Regions from separate parts of the Homo sapiens genome. Here all the other regions are linked to region 2. Evidence: promoter capture Hi-C in 16 types of primary human blood cells and fetal thymus (Javierre and others, 2016). All regions are on one chromosome and are shown on one strand. The core of a region is centred on a gene start or on the middle of the fragment in contact, and the rest is flanking DNA. Distances in the headings are between cores, read along the strand shown. Region 1 overlaps PDE8A (phosphodiesterase 8A). Region 2 holds the start of ZSCAN2 (zinc finger and SCAN domain containing 2). Region 3 overlaps ALPK3 (alpha kinase 3). Region 4 overlaps PDE8A (phosphodiesterase 8A). Region 5 overlaps SLC28A1 (solute carrier family 28 member 1).

Region 1 (4,103 bases), core at 1,426-3,925, 410 kb after region 2:
ATTGGCCCAGTAGGAAGACGAATTGAAGATGAGACATTTACATTACACTTTATTTGCTGGATGATTTTTGTAGGGTTTTTTTCTTCTTGTGTAATGTTGTTAGAAGACAGGTTTGGAGCCAGAGAGTACTGGTCCAAAACTCAACCCTGTCTCTCCCTGCTTTTTGACCTTTGGCAAGTTTCATAACCTTTCGGGGCCCTAGCTTTTTCTTATTTGTAAAGTGGTGGTAGTTGTCCAGTTTTAATTAAATTTTGAATGTAAAATGGTCTGTCAATGTGTAAAAAATTATAAAACACTCAATAAATTGCAGTTGCCTAAAAGGGAAGCTTCAACTTTATTGTTAGAAAAATAATGGTTTTCCTAGAAGAAAACCTAGGCATTACCATTCAGGACATAGGCATGGGCAAGGACTTTATGTCTAAAACACCAAAAGCAATGGCAACAAAAGCCAAAATTGACACATGGGATCTAATTAAACTAAAGAGCTTCTGCACAGCAAAAGAAACTACCATCAGAGTGAACAGGCAACCTACAAAATGGGAGAAAATTTTCGCAACCTGCTCATCTGACAAAGGGCTAATATCCAGAATCTACAATGAACTCAAACAAATTTACAAGAAAAAAAACAAACAACCCCATCAAAAAGTGGGCGAAGGACATGAACAGACACTTCTCAAATTAAGACATTTATGCAGCCAAAAAACACATGAAAAAATGCTCACCATCACTGGCCATCAGAGAAATGCAAATCAAAACCACAATGAGATACCATCTCACACCAGTTAGAAAGGCAATCATTAAAAAGTCAGGAAACAGCAGGTGCTGGAGAGGATGTGGAGAAATAGGAACACTTTTACACTGTTGGTGGGACTGTAAACTAGTTCAACCATTGTGGAAGTCAGTGTGGTGATTCCTCAGGGATCTAGAACTAGAAATACCATTTGACCCAGCCATCTCATTACTGGGTGTATACCCAAAGGACTATAAATCATGCTGCTATAAAGACACATGCACACGTATGTTTATTGCAGCACTATTCACAATAGCAAAGACTTGGAGCCAACCCAAATATCCAACAATGATAGACTGGATTAAGAAAATGTGGCACATATACACCATGGAATACTATGCAGCCATAAAAAATGATGAGTTCATGTCCTTTGTAGGGACCTGGATGAAATTGGAAATCATCATTCTCAGTAAACTATCACAAGGACAAAAAACCAAACACCGCATGTTCTCACTCATAGGTGGGAATTGAACAATGAGAACACATGGACACAGGAAGGGGAACATCACACTCTGGGGGCTGTTGTGGGTTGGGGGGAGGGGGGAGGGATGGCATTAGGAGATATACCTAATGCTAAATGACGAGTTAATGGGTGCAGCACACCAGCATGGCACATGTATACATATGTAACTAACCTGCACATTGTGCACATGTACCCTAAAACTTAAAGTATAATAATAATAGAATAAAAAAAAAAGAAGAAAATAATGGTTTTAACATACAGTATTGTTAGACTCCGAAAAGTAGATTAGGGCTTTCTTTTTAAGAATTTATTTGGAAATTAATTTTGATGATTTATAAATGATTATATAATACCCAGTTATACAATTTACCCTTGGGAACAAAGAAGGAAATATAATATTATATTGGCTTGTATAATCACCCTCTTACTTTGGAAACAAAAGAGTGGGAGTGGGAGAATTTTGGAGAACCTGATCCACTGTTAACTCTAATAATCGTTTCCTGAAGAACAGCCCCATCCACAGTTAAACAGAAATCTGGGGATATTAAATGGAGCTTTGTACTCTTGTCACTTTTTTCTTTCTTCATCAATTTCTAGTTGCTTAGAATTAAGGGCTACACTAAATGACCCTGCATTTGTTGGTGAGAACAGGGGAAGCAGAGAGATGTTTTGTAAGGGATGGAAGGTAGTATTTACATACAAAATTCACAGATTTGGACCTTAGCAACTTTGATCCTGATGGGCTTGATAGAGAAATTACAAGGTTAAAAGGGCTTTGAGATGTGGTGGAAAGAACAGAGACTTCCTATACCCTGCCTCTACCACTGTGCACTTTTAACAAGTTATTATCTTCTCTGAGCATCACTTTTCTTATCTGCAAAATGGGAATAATGAATTCTATCTTTTAGAGTTTTTGAGATTAACTGAGATAATGTGATAAATGATACTTTTCTTAAGGCAGTGAGGTAGAAAAGCAACAAATTTTTATTAGCTCTTTCTTCCTCTCCTTCAATTTAATCTATTATATGTGTTTGCCAGAATAAAGGAATTGTGTTTAAAGGATTGTCTGTAATTACTCAACTTAGTATTTTGAAATATTTTATTGTGGAGAATTTATAACATGTACAAAAGTAGAATTATGTTGTATTTGTTGCATAACAAATTACCCCAAAGTTTACTGGCTTAAAACAGTAATAAGCATTTATTTCTCACTGTTTCTTTGGTTCAGGAATTTGAGAGAAGCGGGGCTCAATAGTTCTGGCTCATAGTCTCTCTTGAGGTTGCAGTCAGGTGTTGGCTGGGTCTTTGGTCATCCAAAACCTTTAGTGGGCCAGCGGATTCACTTCCAAGGTGCTTCACTCATATGATTGGCCAAGTTAGTGCAGGATGTTTTGGGGTTTGAGGAAAGGCCCAATTCCTCTCCATGTGTGTCAGCTTCACAGGGCTGCTCAGGTACCCGCTGGCTTCCCGCAGAGAAGTGATCCAGGAAGTCAAAGCAGAAGCTACAATGCCCTGTTTGACCTAGCCTAGACTACATATTGTCAGTTCCACTGTATTTTATGCATTACATATACCAGCCTTGATTCAGGGTGGAGATGATACACGATCTTGTGATGATAATCACATCTTTCTTTCTTCCTTTCTTTTTCTTTTTCTTTTTCTTTTTTTTTAAAGTCAGGGTCTTGCTCTGTCCCCCAGGCTACCAGGCTGGAGTGCAGTGGCATGATAATAGCTTAATGCAGCCTCGAACTCCTGGGCTAAAGCTATTCTCCTGCTTCAGCCTCCCGAGGAGTTGGAAGTACAGGTGCGGGCCACTAGTCCTGGCCACAGTCATCACATATTTCATTCATTAGTGGTGATATGGCGGCAAATGGTGATATTCTAATTCTCTCATTACTTTTTCATTTAATACTGAATACCTCTATAAAGAGAAGCTCCTCTCATTAACTATGTGATAAAGTTTGAATAGCATAGGCAGGATAAATGCTTGTTTCTTGTTCTCCATTTATTATACCAGTTTTCAGAATAATGGTTTGACTTCCTAATATCCTCCAAAGGGGACCTGTTAAATGTTATTTGTATTACTATGAAGTTAAGTATTTTAATGTATTTGATATGTTTCAGTCAATTGCTCTTATTACCTATATTGATGTTCATATATTTATACCCCTTTTAGAGAAATGGTGGCATACTGTACATAGTACTCTTGATTTGCTTTTCTCGCTTCACAGCATATCCTTGGGATCACTCCATAGTTGTCTATGGAGGAATTGTTCATTCTTAAAAAAATTGAAATATAATTCATATACTCGCCCTTATAAAGTAGACAATTCATTGGTTTTTTAGTATAATCAAAGTTGTGCAACCATTACCACTAATCCTAGAATGTTTTCATCAAAGAAACCCTGTACCTAATAACAGTCCCTCCCCATTGCCTCCTGCCCCTTTACCCGCTACACCCCCAGCCTCTGGCAACCACTAATCTATTTTCTGTCTCTCTGAATTTACCAATGAACGTTTGATTTAAGTAAAATCATATAATTTCTGGCCTTTGTGTCTGGTTTCTTTCAGTTAGCATAATGTTTTCAAGGTTCATCCATGTTTTATTAATAGTTTGAATCAGTTCCTCCTTCCTTTTTTAGCAGCACAGTGCTCCACCGGCTTGATCTGTCTATACCTTAGCTAACCAGCTCATGTTGGTGAACATTTGAACATTTGAGTTGTTTCCCTACATTATTATATGACCTTGTGCATAAGTCTTTTTTTTTTTGGACAGGGTTGCCCAGGCTAGAGAGCAGTGGTGCAATCACAGCTCACCGGAGCCTCGACCTCCCGGGCTCAGGTGATCCT
Region 2 (4,017 bases), core at 1,445-3,944:
CCTGCTGCATCCAGGGAATGTGCATGTGACTTAGACTCAACCAACCAAATGCTCTTTCCTTGCATGGGAGAATTTGTGTGAGAAAGGCGGAGAAACAGAGATGGCTGTAGTACCACCAGAGGTCATGGGATAGGCAAGCTGAACTTTTTCTGCTCAGAGACTGTTATTGTGGTTTTTGGGGACTTCCTCTTTGTCTCTTGGCTCCTAACTGTTCTCAAGCCTGATTCGTCAGCTCCCTTCTACTCTGTCAGTTCCCTGACAGTCTTTCAGTAAGTCCCTTTTACTTAAGTTAGCCAGATTAGTTCTTAAGCTTTTAACCAAGAATGCTTTCTGGTGGAACAGAGCCTCTCTCACCCTTGTGGTTTGGCCAATGGAGAAAGGACTCTCTTGGGGGAGCAACCTTGAACTTGGCTGTGTTTCCAGGCTTGCTTCGATGTAGCAGGCTGGTCTTAGGGTACTGGCTTGGCTACCAGGGCCCTTCTCAGTAGGATCATTATGCCATGAATTGGTCTTAAATGTGACTTTCTCTCTGTCTCATGTAGGATAGTTGACACTGGCAAGGACCAGCTTCCCAGAATCAGACACAGAGGAGACAGCTTCTTTAGGACTCTCCAGTGACAAGCTAGTGCCAGTTCTGTGGTCAAGGGTTGACATGGGTTAGGAACAGAGGTAAATAAACGCTTGAGCTGCTGGAAAGTTCCATCTGTGCATCCCCAGCCTCCCCTGCATCTTTTCCTTTTTGTGTAAATTTCCATTCCTGGTAAGGATGGACACATGGAGAAACCCATCTTTTTTAATACAATGTCATCCCAAAAAAAATCACTTGGAGGGGTGGTGGCCCAGAATTCTGCATCCAGGGGCTTAGTGCAGACTTCTCAGGCTGGCCTGGAGGTGGTGCTATTTGCATGTGGTCAGTCTGGGATAATAAAGATGCTACCAGGGTATTGGATAAGAATCACTAGCTGAACTTCACTTTGCATCTCTGTAATTGGATTCAAGAGGTTAATTAGTGAAAAACAGGTGAATTTCACATAATCTTTGGAGTGGTGCAGAGGACTTTCTAACACAAAACTCACAGGCTATAAAAAGATAAGATTAACAAATTTGACTGCAAAAAAATTTCAAATTTCTATATTTAATAAACCAGCAGAAAACAAACAGCAAACTGAGAAAGAGTAGCAACTGCTGTGACAAAGGGATAATTTTCTTAATATACAAAGAGCTCTTACAAATAAATCCAATTTAAAAATGGGAAAAGGACCGGGCACGTGGCTCATGCCTGTAATCTCAGCACTTTGGGAGGCCAAGACGGCTGGATCACCTGAGGTCAGGAATTCAAGACCAGCCTGATCAACATGGTGAAATCTCTGTCTCTACTAAAAACACGCAAAATTAGCCAGGTGTGGTGGCGCACGCCGGTAATCCCAGCTACTTGGGAGGCTGAGGCAGGAGAATCACTTGATCCGAGATCGTGTCACTGCACTCCAGCCTGGGCGACAGAGGAGGAAAAAAAAAAGCAGTCATTTCATTGCAGGTGCCTCCAGTAATTGCTCAGTGCAAACATACATAACTATTCTATCACAGACCATTAAGGGTGTCTCTCTCCATTTTTAGATTTTCCGCTTGAGTTTCCAGGTAGTTTCTCACCTGTTTTCAAGCAGGGTTGGGGCAGCCGTTTCTTCAACAGCGCCAGCCGTAAAACACAAAGATGGAGGCCAACCTCCCACACCCGGGCACCCTCCCTTCCCCCATACTGAGATTGACAAGTAAGCAACCCGGTGATCAGTACTAAAATGGAGACGTCAGCCAGGTGCGGTGGCTCACACCTGTAATTCCAGCACTTTGGGAGGCTGAGGAGGAAGGATCGCTTGAGCCCAGGGGTTCGAGGTCAGCCTGGGCAACATATGGAAACCCTGTCTCTATGAAATGTAGATCCTGTCTGTGAGTGTGTGTGTATAAATAAATATATATATATATATACAAATACATACATATATATATTTAAAAAATAAAATGGGGACGTCCAACACGTGTACTAGGGGCGGTGTCTCTGCCTGGGGAGGTGGTGATGACAGGGCAGGCTCCACCCAGGAGAAGCTGGAAGAATGGGAGTTCCGCGGCAGAGGAGGCGGGGCAGGGCGTTCCTCCAAACACAGGAATACCACGTGCGAAAACAAAGGGGTGTGCGAAGACCGGGTGCATGTGTACAGCTGCAAACTGGGGGAAAGGCGCCAGGCTTGGGCGATGAGGATTTGTTCCCCCATGGATTCCCTTCCTGCCCAGGGTCCGCTCTCGCCGGTCGAGGGTGCCTAACAATACTCCTTGCCACAAGGTTCGCAGCCGAAAAGGTCCTTCAAGTCCGGCCATCCAACTTTCACTTTTTATAGACAAATATACAGAGGCCTTAGATAAGTGAAACGGCTTGTCTCGGGTTACAGCTCTAGCCAACACAGGGTTTCTGACGGTCAGTCTGCGGATTTTCCTGCCTCTGGTCCGCAGGCACTGCCCAGGCTGTCAGCCCCAAACCCTACTCCGGGGACCGCGGTCAGGTTCGTCTCCGGGCGGACTACATCTCCCACAATGCCTTGGGCCCAGCCTCCCTCCTGCCGCCCGGCTGGGTGCCGTCTCCACCAACAGAAAGGCAGAATTTCCAGGGCCGTTCTCGGCAGCCAATGAGCGCGGCGGTGGGCGGGCCTCTCCCGTCCATTGTTCTCGGTGCCCCACGGGCTTGAGCCGGGGTGAATCTGGAGGGGCCGGGCCGAGCCCGGGGGCGCTTTCGCACGCGAAGCAACCGCTAGAGCAGGACCTGGTCTCCCGAGAGGTGAGCCGGAGAGGCAGGCCTGGAGCCACGCGGACCCCGGGCAGTAGCCCGAGGTGAGGGAATAGTGGGCCTGGAGCCAGCTGCCGGCAGCTCTGCTGGGGGAGGGGCGTCGGGGTCGCGCTCCGTATCCTGCGGGCCCTGCAGCCCCGATTTACGCGCCGGCTCCGCTCAGCGAACCGTCCCGGACGCGTCTCCCTGGCGGAGAGCTCCTTGCCTCTCCTACCGAGAAGCGCAGGCTTTGGACGGGAAGGGGCATTCGACGACATCCCGCGCAGCGTACACGTTTTACAGATGGGGAAACTGAGGTTCAGAGGGGGCGTGTCGTGCCCCAAGTCAGACCGCAAATTAGCTGACCTGGCACACTTTTCCCAGGCTCCCAAGTAGGAAGAGTTCTCTTACACCATATGCCAGTATTTCTTCTAGTCATTTGAGTAAATACACGTTGAGAGCTTCGGTTTTCCCACTAGCTTTTATTTTTTGTCCTTTTTTTTTTAAGCTTTTGTCAGCTTTTCTCCCCTTTTCATTGAGGGAGGGTTGTTAGTTGAGTCTTTATGATGTAGTAATGATTTTTTAAAAAATTTTTTTATTTTTGTAGAGACTGGGTCTCACTCTGTTGCCCAGGTTGGTCATGAACTCCCGGCCTCAAGCCATCTTCCCTCCTCGGCCTCCCAAAGTGCTGGAATTACAGGCGTGAGCTACAGCGCTTGGGCTAAAAATAATTTTGTATTGCTTTTATAATATTTTAAGTCGTTTGCAATTCCACTGCTTTCAATATTTTGTAGGTGCCGTCCCGTTCTTTTTTCCTGTGAGTTCATTTTTTTTTTTTTTTTTTTTTGAGACGGAGTTTTGCTTTTGTTGCCCAGGCTGGAGTGCAATGGCCTGATCTCCGCTCACCGCATCCTCTGCCTCCCGGGTTCAAGCGATTCTCCTGCCTCAGCCTCCGGAGTAGCTGGGATTACGGGCATGCGCCACCACGCCTGGCTAATTTTGTTTTTAGTAGAGACGAGGTTTCTCCGTGTTGGTCAGGCTGGTCTCGATCTTCCGACCTCAGGTGATCCGCCCGCCTCAACCTGCCAAAGTGCTAGGATTACAGGTCTGAGCCACCGCGCCCGGCTGTGAGTTCATTTTTAAAGGGAATTGAGGACTTACTGTGTCTATGGTTTTTCTGCCCTGCTGATTTTGTGTTTATCCATTAT
Region 3 (4,255 bases), core at 409-2,908, 270 kb after region 2:
AAAAATAATAAAGAAAAAAATAAATTTGATTTAAGTCAAAGCCCCATTCTCTTCTAGCTGAGTCTGTTTTACAAAGAAGAAAACTGAAGCTCACCCTGGTTAGGTCATTCAATCTCTCTGAGCTTCAGTTTCCTTTCCCTTTCTAGGAATAATGTCTTTCCTACCTAGCACTCAGATTTTTCATGAGGATTAAGTGAGACCATATTTGTGAAAACCTGCTGCAAACTAAAATTCTGTGCAAATGAGAGAGATCATCATTTTTACACAAAATGGAATGCTATGAATGCCAAAAGAGAAATGACAAATAAATCAATATTTATCACATTAGTCCTATGTTTCAGACACTAAGTTAGAGTCCTACACATATTATGATTTTCTCAATACTCTGTAAGATGGTCATTACTATCCTCACCTTTACACTTGAAGATTAGAGATATGAAGTGACTTGTCGAGTACCCACAGCTCAGAAGTGGTAGAGCTGAAATGTAAATCCAGGTCTGTCTGACTCCAGAGGCCACATTTGTTATTGTCTATCATATGATGGTACTCAGCCCTGTTAGTGAAAGGCAGGTTCCTAGCAAAATGCTCTGGACAGATTGAAAATGGGGGAAAGAGCATCCTAAACCTAATGTGTGAATACTAAGATACCTGGGTGGCCTGAGCACAGTGAAAACGTTTTTTCTCTATCATCATTTTGCCTGGCTCTGCCCTTCCAAGGCTTAACCTGGAAGACCATCTTGGCTTCTTGCTTGCTTGCTGCCTTTGTAAGTAGTGCAGAAGCCAGTCTTCTGTAGTGTTGCATTTCTGCTGGTCTACCCCTGATTTATCCTCTCATTCCCATCCCTCTCTTTTGTCTGGACAGACTACTGATCTGTTCAGAGGATGAAGGTTTTAGCTCAAAGCTAGAGGCTGGTCCAGGTTGTGACCTGGTCTGATCCAGTAGAGGCAGGATTGCATAGCTGGAAGAGTTTTGGCTCTAGGAATCCAAAAAAACGGAACCCTTATTTTAAGTCAAATGGCCATTGCACATGGCCAGAGCTCAATTATTGAATGAGTGAGTATGACTTTGCTCAAGCCATTTAACTCTGAGCCTATCCTCCTCACTTGTAAAAATATGAATATTATTCCTAGTAATAATCCAGAGACCTGCATGCTGTGAGACAGGCTGGTGGTGATGACCCATGAGAAGATGCTTGAAGACACACCTGCACTGACACCCAGGAAGTTGATGCCAGCCTGGGCTGGTTCTAAGCCCCCATGTCTCCAGCAGGAAGAGACATGGTTCTAAGCCACCCAGTATATCTTCCTGCTGGAGATGTGGGGGCTTAGAGCCAGCCCAGACTGGCATCAACTCCCAACTTTCTCTCTTTTCAGGGGTTGACTGGAAGATGACTGATGTGCAGATTGCTACCAAACTCCGAGGGTGAGTGGTTCTTGGGGACAGAATGCCCTCTGGGCGTCTTCTCAGGGTGTAAAATGTCCTAAGCCCTTCTGGTTCTCCATCCCTGAGGTGCTGGGCCTGGGGCCAAGTGGTCCCAGACACACCCATGGCCATGTGGTAACATCCTAGGGGCTACTGGTCCCCACCCCTTATCTCTGGCCTGGTGTGGCAGCTATTACTGATGCCACACATGGGGTCCCCTGCAATCCAGAGCTCTCACATACTCCTCCCCTCTCGCTTGAGGATGGTTGCCAAGGTGCCGATGAGTAAGGGTCCTGTGATGAGAGTGCGGACCTCGAGTCTGCTCCAATTTATGTTCAGAAGCTAAGCCATTCTTATGCCATTTAAAGTCCTGCGTGATGGATTCCATGTGTCAGGGTGTAATGAGACCACAGTTTTAAAACTGAGGCCTTGGGCCAGGCATGGTGGCTCACGCCTCTAACCCTAGCACTTTGGGAGGCTGGGGAGGGAGGATTTCTTGAGCCCAGGAGTTTGAGACCAGCCTGGGCCAAGTAGAGAGACTCTGTCTCTATTTTTTTAAAAAGAAAAACTGAGGTTTTGGCTGCTGCCACCTGAGGTAGCACCAAGGGAGAGTCCCCATCACCCTCAGATAAGGTAGGATGTACCCTGAGCACGACATCCTGATGATGGCCACCCCAGAGTCCGCCCCCCAAGGAACTGTGTCTCTGGTTGGGACCCCCACTCAGCTCTTCCTGTCTGGCTGCAGATACCAGGGCCTCAAGGAAAGCTGCTTCCCTGCCCTGCTGGACCGGTTCGCCTCCTCCCACCAGTGCAATGCCTACTGTGAGCTGCTGGGGCTGACACCTCTCAAGGGCCCGGAGGCGGCCCACCCCCAAGCCAAAGCCAAAGGCTCTAAGAGTCCATCTGCTGGCAGGAAAGGCTCCCAGCTGAGTCCTCAGCCCCAGAAGAAAGGCCTCCCTAGTCCTCAGGGCACCCGGAAGAGTGCTCCAAGTTCCAAGGCCACCCCTCAGGCCTCAGAGCCAGTCACCACTCAGTTGTTGGGACAGCCTCCCACCCAAGAGGAGGGCTCCAAGGCCCAGGGCATGCGGTAGCCTCCGCAGAGGCTGGGGGCCTCCACCCAGCAGCAGACCAACCAGGAAGCAGCTTGAACTGGATGGAGACTTTCCAAATATGGAACTAACTGGAGAAGGTGCACGAAGGAGACACCACTTGGGGACCTCTCTGAGCAGGCTCTCGTGAATCAGCTCGTCATCAGATGGCTTTGGTGCATGGCACATAGCCCACTGGCCTCTTCTGGTGCCACTGTCACCCAGGGCTCCCGGGCCTCAAGCAGTCCCCACCTCCAAGTGCCTGGCAACCTAGGCCCTCCTTGAAGTTTACACTTTGCCACTGCTGGAGGCTCCCCTGAGTCCTCTGCATGAGTTCTGCACCCCAAGCCCTTGCCCCAGCCCAGTCCAGCAGCAGATGTTACAATCTGAGTGAGGACATGCAGGCCAACTTTTACCCTCCTGCATTTGCCTGGCCCTGATCTCGCCTGTCCTCAGGGATCCAGACTTCCTCTGCTGGTCTGGCCTGGTGACTCTCAGGGTATCTTCTCCTTCCAGCTACTTTCGCTCACTGATCTCAGCTTATCCTGCAACTAACCATCCTTGAGCCCAGATGGGGCTCAGGGCCCTTCCAGAGCCTGTCATGTCCTTGTGCAGTGGCCTTTGATGTGTGTTCACGCTCTTCCCCCTTCACTCACTCGCCTGCTTCCCATGCTCCCTTGTACCCCCTCGCCACATCCCTGTCTTGGGGCCCAGCTGCAGCCTGCTGCCTGCCCTTCATGGCTCTGCACATGGCCCTTTGCTTGAGGGCTCCCCACTCCCTGCCCACCAATACCCAGGTGAGGAACAGACCCTCTGGCCTCTCACCCCACTTCAGTGCTCTCTTCCCCAACTTCTCTCGGGCTCTTTGCTCATGAGGTGAGAGCTGGTGTGAGGGTTGTGTCAGCAGCTGTAGCCAGAGAGAGGTGTTGACTCTGAGAGACCTTGCACTCCATACTGAAAGGAGGTGGGGTCACAGTGAATTTCACATCCCCTCTCAACCAGGAGTGGAGGGCTAGGTCCCTTCCCCATGGGGAGTACACTTGGGTGTTCTAGGAGGGATGCAGTCTATCCATGCACTTGGGTGGAGGGGAGTCTCTGTGCCTGGGAATTAGGACCCCTGCTCCAACCATCGCTCTTGATCCTGGGGCCCCAGCTCTGGGTCCTCATGTATGGGCTCCCAAGGACCCAGCAGCCTGGATCCTTCCAGAGCATCCCTCCTGGAGGCCTGGGATGGGGTAGGTCTGCAGCTAGCCTACTCCCTTTGGAATGCAATAAAGGCAGCATTGTGTGCCCTGCTTGCCCTCATCTGGTGTGGTTGGAGGTCTGTGGAGTCAAGGTCCCCCTCTCCCAGGCAGGCTCTCTGAGGGCATTCTGTAGTCCCAGGCCCACTGGAAAAATGAATCTATATTTTGGTTCCTGGACCGAAGTTCAGTCGCAGCCTTCTGTGGCCACAGAAAGACAGCTTGTGCTGCTTGCACAACTGAGCTGCTGGTGTGTACCCCTTAGCAGGGTGTCTGGGGACTTACGCCTTTGGAATTGCTCTTCATTCAGAAGAGGAACACAAAGGAAGCCACCCAGGAAGGAAGCACAGAGCTGGGGGCTCTGGAAACGCCCTGTGTCTCTGGCTACAGCAAGACCAGCCCAGGAGCCCACCAGCACCTGCCTCTCAGCTACTTGCTGACCATTTCCTGCTTCTCAAGCTGCAGAGAAGCTTTTCATTCCCACCCCCACCCGGAACCTCCCC
Region 4 (4,197 bases), core at 179-2,678, 390 kb after region 2:
GTCCATTAACAACATAATGGATAAAAAAGTTATGATATGTTCAAAGAAAGGAATACTTCACAGCTGTGAAAAATGGATTATAGTTTTAGATATTAACTTTGATAAATCTCAGTGGAGAGAAAGAAGAAGCCATCAAAAAATCTGTAAGTTATGATTCTTTTTATTTAAAGATTGATAGGCTGGGAGTGGTGGCTCACACCTGTAATCCCAGCACTTTGGGAGGCCGAGGCAGGAGGATTACTTGAGGCCAGGAGTTTGAGATCAGCCTGGACAACATAGCAAGACCCCATCTCTAACAACAAAAAAAAGATTAATAGCTAAACAATATATAGTAATACACACATAGGTGTTAAAACTTACCATAAAATCAGTTCAGGCAAATAAAGTTTATTTTAAGGACTTAAATGTTTAGCATGTTAATTTGAGTGCCTAATATAGAGGCTGTAGGAGGATAACAGGCCCTGCTCTCAGGGAACAATTAGTCCTTTCTGGAAAGGTGGGGTAGGTCTCTGACCTGGAAGTGATGATGGCACCTTGGGGGATGGATTGTGGAGGCAAGAGCTTGGTCTGGATTGGTCATAAGGTATAGAAAGAGGAAAGGAGGGAGAGGTTTGACCTGGGCTTAAAAGACTGGGAGGATGTGGATAAGTGGAAAATATATCTCTGGATAAGGGGAAGGAAGGGTACGGGGGTTGGGTGCATGTTCCAATTATGAGGAGGCTGACCAGAGATAGGACGGGAGGTCTAAAAGCCAGGTTGAGGAGTTTGAAGTCCATCCTATAAACCTCAGAGAACTCCCAAAGGCATTTCATTTTCAGCGGGGTAGTCAAAGGATAAACATGTTTCATGAAGATTAGGTTTCAGGCAAAAATTGCAGTAGGTGGGGTGAGGGACAGCTAGAGGTGGGGCACTATGCAGGACCTATTGCAGTGGTTCAGGCACAAGGTATGACCAGGTATGACTAACTTAGTGCAGTAGTTTGGGAGAGGAGGGAATGAGAGAAGGAAAAACTGACTAGTGACAAATTGGACTTGGTGAGTGAAAGGGCGGAGAGTGGAGGGTGACTCAGAGGTTGGGGTTTACCAGCTTAGAAGGACTGTGATAACATGCCACAATTTGTACAGTGCTTTATGGTTTACCAAATGCTATTTTTGTACCTCATCTCATTTGATGTTCCCCAAACCATGGGGAGGTGGAAAGGAGGGATTTTATTTTCCCTGTTTAAGGCCTAAAGAAGCAGAAATTCAGAGATTGAATGACTTGTTCAAGTTTGTGGTGACCACTTACAGAAACAGGTTCACTGTAATAGCATAAGGGAGAAGTCACAGGAAAGCGAATTTAGGGAGTTTTTAAAAAACCTTTCTTGTCTTTTGGTTCTGAGTTCATCTTATAAAAATAAACTTTTACTTTTCCTGATTGTAAAAGTCATATTCATTGTAGAAAACTTGAAACATATAGAAAAGAACAAGGATCGGCTGGGCGTGGTGGCTCATGCCTGTAATCCCAGCACTTTGGGAGGCCAAGGCGGGCGGATCACAAGGTCAGGAGATCAAGACCATCCTGGCTAACACGGTGAAACCCCGTCTCTTCTAAAAATACAAAAAATTAGCCGGGTGTGGTGGCAGGTGCCTGTAGTCCCAGCTACTTGGGAGGCTGAGGCAGGAGAATGGCATGAACCCAGGAGGCAGAGTTTGTAGTGAGCCGAAATCGCGCCACTGCAGTCCAGCCTGGGCGACAGAGCGAGACTCCATCTCAAAAAAAAAAAAAAAAAAAAAAAGAACAAGGATCACTTAAATTGTACAATCACTTAAATTGCACAGTCAGGAGATAATGTCTCTTAAAATGGTGGTGTGTTTCCTTCCATCCATGTAGATTGCTTTAAATAACTATAATTAAAAACTTTTTTGGGCTGGGCGTAGTGGCTCATGCCTGTAAATCCCAGCACTTTTGGGAGGACAAGATGGGAGAATCACGTGAGGCCAGGAGTTTGAGAACAGCTTGGGAAACATAGTAAGACCCCCATTCTCTATAAAAAAAAATAATAATAAATAAATTAGCTGGGCATGGTGGTGCACACCTGTAATCCCAGCTACTTAGACTGAGGTGGGAGGATTGCTTGAGGCTGGGAGTTTGAGGTTGCAGTGAGCTATGATTGTGCCACTGCACTCCAACCTGGGTGACAGAGTGAGACCCTGTCTCTTAAAAAGCAAAAAACAAAAATATTTTTTAAGCAGTTTTGTTTTTTAGTTCTAGGAAACATTTAACTATTATTTATTTAAATGTTGTCCCCTTAAGTTTTCTCATTTTCTCTTCTGCAGCTCCCTCCAAAAGATAGATTGAGACGCATCTTGATCTGTCCTCCGTGTCTCTTCACTTTTCTTTTACTTCCCCTCTCTGTGCTATCTTCTGGGAGGATTTTTTAGCTCAATATTTTAAGTCACGAATTCATTCCTCAAGGTCTACTCAGCTCTTTAGCCCACTGAGTTTTTAAATTTGAGTTTTTGTCTTCAGTCTATGGTTTGCTCTTTTTTCTTAATTGCTTATTCATGTTTTATGGTTGCAGCATACTTCCTTATCTCTTTGAGGATATTAATTACACTCACTTTAAAGTCCTATTCTGATTGCTGTATTAAAAACACTTTTTATTGAGTTATAAATGTAATCAGCCAAGGTGTACAAAATCCCTAAGTGTACAGCTTGATGAATTTTCCTCATGCTCCCATGTAATCACCAGCCAAATCAAGACAGAACATTTCCAGCATTCCAGAAGGCTGCCTTGTGGCTGTTTACTGTTTTTTAGTATTTTTAACATTTTATGAAAAATCTCAAAATACAGCAATCTTGAAGGATTTTTCACAGGGTACCCCTGTGTACCCAATGCCTGTATTTTACATTAGCATTTTACTGTACTTGCTTTATCACATATATCCATGTATCCATTCTTCTACCTATCATACTCCTTTTTCTTTGATATATTTTAAAGTAATTGCAAGTGAGGACGGGAGCGGTGGCTCACGCCTGTAATCCCAGCACTTTGGGAGGCTGAGGCAGGTGGATCACCTGAGGTCAGGAGTTCAAGACCTGACCAACATGGTGAAACCCTGTCTCTACTAAAAATACAAAAAATTAGCTGGGCATGGTGGCAGGTGCCTATAATCCTAGCTACTAGAGGCTGAGGCAGGAGAATCGCTTGAACCCAGGAGGCAGAGGCTGCAGTGAGCTGAGATCACACCATTGCACTCCAGCCTGGGCAACAAGGGCGAAACTCTGTCTCAAAAAAAAAAAAGAGAGAAAAAGCAATTGTAAATGTTAGTATACTATACTTCCCCTTAAATATTTCAGCATGAATTTGATATTTGCTTAGGTTTTTTCCTTTTGAAGCAACATTTACACACAGTGAAATGCACAAATATTTAGTGTATATTTGCTGAGTTTTGACAAACGCATACATATATCTGCGTAATCCAAACCTCTATGAAGTTATAGAACATTATTTTCATTCCAGAAAGTTTCATTATGCTCCTTATTGGACAATCTCTTCTTGCAACCACCCTTCTGATTTTTTTCTTACCACAGATTAGTTTTGCCTGTTCTAATTTTAATATAAGTGGAGTTACACAGTATGTACCTTTTTTTTTTTTTCTGAGGCAGGGTCTCCCTCTGTTGCCTAGACTGGAGTGCAGTGCTGTGATCATAGTTAACTGCAGCCTTGACTTCCCTGGCTCAACTGATCCTCCTCCCACCTCAACCTCCTGGGTAGCTGGGACTACAGGTACGCACCACCACTCCTGGCTAATTAAAAAAATTTTTTTTGTAGAGACAGGGTCTCATTATATTGCTCAGGCTGGTCTCAAACTCCTGGGCTCAAGCAGTCCTCCTGCCTCAGCTTCCCAAAGTGTTGGGATTACAGGTGTGAGCTACCACGCCCAGTGTATGTACTTTTATATAAGACTTCTTTCCCTAAGCGTTATGTTTTTGGGATTCATCTATGTTTCATGTCTCAGTAGTTCATAATATTACACGATTAACTTTTAAAAGCTCACGATAAATATTGTTAAATTGCCCTCCAGGAAAATGTGATGAAATTTTGTAATTAAAAAATCCCTGAGTGGCTGGGATTATAGGCATGCACTACTTTACCCTGCCTTGTGGTCAGATTTTTATTTCATAAGGAGCATGTGAGAGTGCTTTGTGGTG
Region 5 (4,228 bases), core at 1,341-3,840, 290 kb after region 2:
GGCCAGATCCGGAGCTGAGGACACCGTGATGGGCAGGGGGTGGTGGTGGGGGAGGGATTCCGTCTCTCTGCCTGGGCAGGGGATATGGGAAGAATGCCTCCTCCACCCTCTCAGGAGGAGGTGGGAGGTGGGGACTGAGAGGAGGTGAGGCTCCTTAAAATGGCAGCTGGTGGGTGGATTCCAATTAGCATTGAGTGGGCGTCTACTCAATGTGTGTCCCATGGGCAGGTGGATGAACGACAGGGGAGGGGAGGCAGCCATCCATGTTTTTCTTTTCTTTTCTTTTCCTTTTTCTTTTCTTTCCTTCCTTCCTTCTTTCCTTCCTTCCTTCTTTCCTTCCTTCCTTCTTTCCTTCCTTCCTTCCTTCCTTCCTTCCTTCCTTCCTTCCTTCCTTCCTTCCTTCCTTTTCTTTCTCTCTTCCTTCCTTCTTTCTTTTCTTTTTTCTTTCTTTCTCTTTCTTTCTTGCTTGCTTGCTTTCTCTTCCTTCCTTCCTTTCTCTCTTTTTTTTTTTTTAGGCAGGTCTCACTCTGTTGCCTGGGCTGGAGTGCAGTGGCACGAACCCTTCCTGGGCTCAAGAGATTCTCCTGCCTCAGCTTCTTGAGCAGCTGGGATTACAGGCGCACGCCACCATGCCTGGCTAATTTTTGTGTTTTTGGTAGAGAAGGGGTTTGTCATGTTGCCCAGGCTAGTCTTGAACTCCTGGGCTCAAGTGATCCACGCTCCTGGGCCTCCCAAAGTGCTGGGATTACTGGTGTGAGCCACCGCGCCCCCCCACCGGCCACATTTCTGTATGTTGATGAGGTTCTGCCTTTTCAGTGAACTTCCTCCTGAGCCCTGGAGGCAGGGACTATCACTGGGGTAGTGGGGCCTGTGGGTGCTGCCACAGAGGCAGGAAGGCCTGAACCATTTCTACATTTGCCCTGGGCTGGGGTTGCCCTGCAGCCCTGTGGGGATGTCAAGGCAAGCCCTGGCTTGCCCCTGTTGCCACTTTACTGGGGACATACCTGAGTGGAGGTGCTGAGGATCTCCCCCAGATGGGGTCTGCTCATGCACTCATGGACCCTGCTGGTCTTGTTCCCAGGAGGAACCTGCAGCCAGCCCTGAGAGCCAGAAGCTTCTGCAGGGAGCACATGCAGCTGTTTCGATGGATCGGCACAGGCCTGCTCTGCACTGGTGAGCCTGGGGCCCAGCACTACCCAGGACACAATGACTCCTGCCTCAGCTATCCATGTCTCAGGGCAGGGTCATTCACTCACCCAGTCATTCAACAAATGGTTGTTGAGCACCAACTCAGGTCCAGCTCCCTTGCTGGGTACTGAGGCATCTGTTAAGCCAGGCCAGATCTTGTTCCCAAGGCACTCCCTCATCAGTAAGGGAGGCGGAAGAAATAGTCCCACATAATGCAGCATGTCATCTGGGAACACCAAGGAGGAATGGGGGATGATCAGGGAGGACTTCCAGGAGGAGGTGACATTGGAGTCTCACAGGCTAAGTAGGAGTTAGCCAGGTGGAGGTGATAGATACTAAGGAGGGCAAAGGCACTCCACACAGAGGAGTCACAGGAGCAAAGGTGAAAACTGGCAGGGTGTGGGTTTCGATAAAGTTCGACGTCTGCACTGTAAGGTCTGGAGGGTAAAGTTCTAGACAAGGAGTGTCAGGGGATGGGGCTGGAGAGATAGGAAAGGGCCCAGGATGGGGAGTGGGTAGGGATATGGGAGGATGCTCAAGGACTTGGATTTTACCCTCAAGGCCAGAGAGAGCCACTGAAGGTTTTGAACAGGGAAGCGTCAAGGTGGAATTCACACGGTGGGACCCTGGAAGGAGGGCAGGAAAGAGGGGGAGATGGAGACATTGAGGACTGCAATGCCTGTGTGAGAATGAAGCTGTGGAAGGTGGGCGGGGGCAATGGGAGAGGTCCTTGGGAAGCAATGCTAGCTGTACTTGGCAATGACTGGGTGTGCAGCATGAAGGAAACCCTGAATTAGGGCTGCCCCAGGGGCCTGCTCGGGTGATAGGAGGATGATGGTGTCTTCCACAGAGCTAGAGAACATGCGTGCAGAGGGAGTCTTGGCAGGAAGGGGGATAATTAGGATAGTTTGTTGGAGGTACCACTGCCAGGCCATCTGAGGGAGAGAGGAGGCTCCCCAGGCACACTTGGAGAATGAATTGAGAAGTGGGTCAAGGACAGAAGCCTGGAGACCAGCCACACAGAAGGGGTTGGCGGCAGCCAAAGGAGCAAGGGTTTCAAGGAGGGAAAGATCAGCAGCATCTCTGCAAGACCCGCAGGACAAAAACTGAGCCATGTCCACCGATTTAGGGACAAGGAGGCCACTGGTGACTTAGGGTGTAGGTGCAAAAACTGAATTGGAGCGGATGGCAGATGAGGCTGTGCAGACAGCAAGTGTAAATGGCTTTTTGGATCAATTTTTATGAGATCAGGCGGGGAGGCTGAATGGGCAGGGTGTGACCCAGTGTCAAGGATGGGCATGAGTTTGGGGTGGGAGACACTTTGTTTGTACGAGCTGAGGTGGGGAGTTTGTAGAAGGAATATGAAGGAATGGGAGATGAAGAGATGTCCGATGGAGCAAGGTCCCCTGGCACGGAGTAGAAAAGCTCCCCACCCCACCGGGAGGGGTGGGTCTTTGCAGGAGCAAGCTCACCTCATTCTGACAGGTTGGAATTAAAGAGGGGCCAGGCATGGCAGGTGGTTCATGCCTGTAATCCCAGCACTTTGGGAGGATGTAGTGGGAGGCTGTAGTGGGAGGATTGTTTGAGCCCAGGAGTTTGAGACCAGCCTGGGCCACACAGCAAGACCCCACCTCTACAAAAAATTTTAAAAATAAAAATAAATTTTAAAAAAAGAAAAAGGAGGATGGGTACAGATGCAGAGTCATTATAGGTGCTCTGGAGGGGAGGGGCAGTGAGAGAGGCGACAGCAATGACCTGGTCTGCTTGGTGAACTTGAAAGTAGGGTCATCTGCTGAGATGGGGTGGGTCCATGTCCCTCACAGCTTCCTTCTAGAGATGGTGATGTCCACCTTTGGCAGGGTCTGAAGCCAGGGCCATCTCTGTTTCCTTGGCTGCCTCCTTCACTCAGATCTGATTTGTTTCTCTTGAAGAACAATTGAATTCTCTCCAGTAGAGAATGAAAATTACCCCACTCATCCTATTTCCATGTTTGCCATGGCTGTCAGGAATGCAATCTGAATCATTGAATGATCCCTTGCAATGGTCAGCAGTGACTTTCTCTGTTTCTGGGTGACTTTGATTTCTCTGGCTTTTCAATATCTTTATTACATCACCTCTTTCCTGGGGAGGCTGTTCACAGACGTTCTGGGAATAGCTGTGATAGAGAAATGAGGCTCATATTCTCAGGACTTGGCTCCTGAGCTGCGACAGTGGCTTGCTTGCCTTAGGTAGGCCTTCTCCATGGGTGCAGCGACAGCGCTGGCACCATCAGACTAACAAGGATGGCCTTGGTGTCCCCAGTCTTAGAAGAAGGAGGTGCCTCTTGCCCGCTCTCCCAGCCAAAGCCCAGGGAGGTCTTCAAGGAGCTTAGCTCAGGTCCTGCCCGTCCCCAAACCAATCCCTGTGAATGGATCCTAGATGAATAAAATACTTCCAAAAGCACTTCTGTCCTTGTGCCCCTCCTGGAGGACCCCTCCACACTGCCCCCTCTCCCTGAGTCCCCATCCTGGCCTGCCCAGACCCCCCCAGCCTTCCTGGCCCGCCCCGACCACAAAGCACAGGCCCTGAGGCGCACAGACCTTCTTGGCCTCCTAGCCCCATGCCCTCCCTGTGTGAGGCACTCATCTCGGCTGGCCTCAGAGGCCTCCCTCTCCAAGTGGGCATCACTGTAGACCCCACCTTGTAGGGGTCTTGTGAGGATTCATTGTGAAAATGCATCTGAAGTGCCAAGCTCACCTCCTGGCGACCACGGAGCCTCTCCCTGGCCAGGTCCCCCTCCCCTGAACCCCCATGGCCGGTGCCAGCAGCCCCAGCACCGCTCTGTGGGGCTCCACCCGTGTGTCTCAATGACACCCGTTCAGGTAGGAACTCCAGCCCACAAGCTTCCATGTGAGAGAAAGGTCATTTTATTTTTTATAACTCAACTTATCTTCTCCCTCAATGTTATCATTCCAGTGAGTGACGGGAACTCAATTTCTGTCCATTTGGAACCTCCCTTCATCCCTTCCTCTGGGGGTCACCGGGGGGGCTTATCTATCAT

What was found. The method cuts DNA at HindIII sites, captures the fragments that hold promoters and counts their contacts. A CHiCAGO score of 5 or more calls a contact.
Region 1: a fragment that was not itself captured here is called in contact with the fragment with the promoter of ZSCAN2 in region 2 in 1 of 17 cell types (naive CD4 T cells); the score reaches 5.6 in naive CD4 T cells.
Region 3: a fragment that was not itself captured here is called in contact with the fragment with the promoter of ZSCAN2 in region 2 in 13 of 17 cell types (erythroblasts, M2 macrophages, naive CD4 T cells and 10 more); the score reaches 8.8 in erythroblasts.
Region 4: a fragment that was not itself captured here is called in contact with the fragment with the promoter of ZSCAN2 in region 2 in 1 of 17 cell types (naive CD8 T cells); the score reaches 5.2 in naive CD8 T cells.
Region 5: a contact is called between a fragment that was not itself captured here and the fragment with the promoter of ZSCAN2 in region 2, in 1 of 17 cell types (M0 macrophages). The highest score is 5.7, in M0 macrophages.

Annotation. Positions count from the first base shown.
Region 1 is chr15:85,011,233-85,015,335 of GRCh38, forward strand. All of the region lies in intron 1 of PDE8A (phosphodiesterase 8A), which reads left to right. Among named protein-coding and RNA genes, the nearest start is that of PDE8A, 31 kb to the left of the region's middle. The HindIII fragment of the contact is 4,702 bases long and covers 325-4,103 here.
Region 2 is chr15:84,598,315-84,602,331 of GRCh38, forward strand. It overlaps ZSCAN2 (zinc finger and SCAN domain containing 2), which reads left to right and starts at 2,695. Exons shown (of 3, transcript NM_181877.4): 1 at 2,695-2,821. LOC105370947 (a long non-coding RNA gene) reads right to left here. Exons shown (of 4, transcript NR_186225.1): 4 at 1,120-1,489. RefSeq lists an enhancer at 2,543-2,592 and a silencer at 2,913-3,062. The HindIII fragment of the contact is 3,007 bases long and covers 309-3,315 here.
Region 3 is chr15:84,865,943-84,870,197 of GRCh38, forward strand. ALPK3 (alpha kinase 3) reads left to right here. Exons shown (of 14, transcript NM_020778.5): 13 at 1,375-1,423; 14 at 2,169-4,255. The coding sequence ends at 2,514. Among named protein-coding and RNA genes, the nearest start is that of SLC28A1, 17 kb to the right of the region's middle. The HindIII fragment of the contact is 5,124 bases long and covers 1-4,220 here.
Region 4 is chr15:84,991,689-84,995,885 of GRCh38, forward strand. The region is part of intron 1 of PDE8A (phosphodiesterase 8A); the gene reads left to right. Among named protein-coding and RNA genes, the nearest start is that of PDE8A, 12 kb to the left of the region's middle. RefSeq lists a silencer at 910-1,204. The HindIII fragment of the contact is 8,126 bases long and covers 1-4,197 here.
Region 5 is chr15:84,889,362-84,893,589 of GRCh38, forward strand. SLC28A1 (solute carrier family 28 member 1) reads left to right here. Exons shown (of 19, transcript NM_004213.5): 5 at 1,082-1,173. Among named protein-coding and RNA genes, the nearest start is that of SLC28A1, 6.8 kb to the left of the region's middle. RefSeq lists an enhancer at 316-884. The HindIII fragment of the contact is 2,956 bases long and covers 1,113-4,068 here.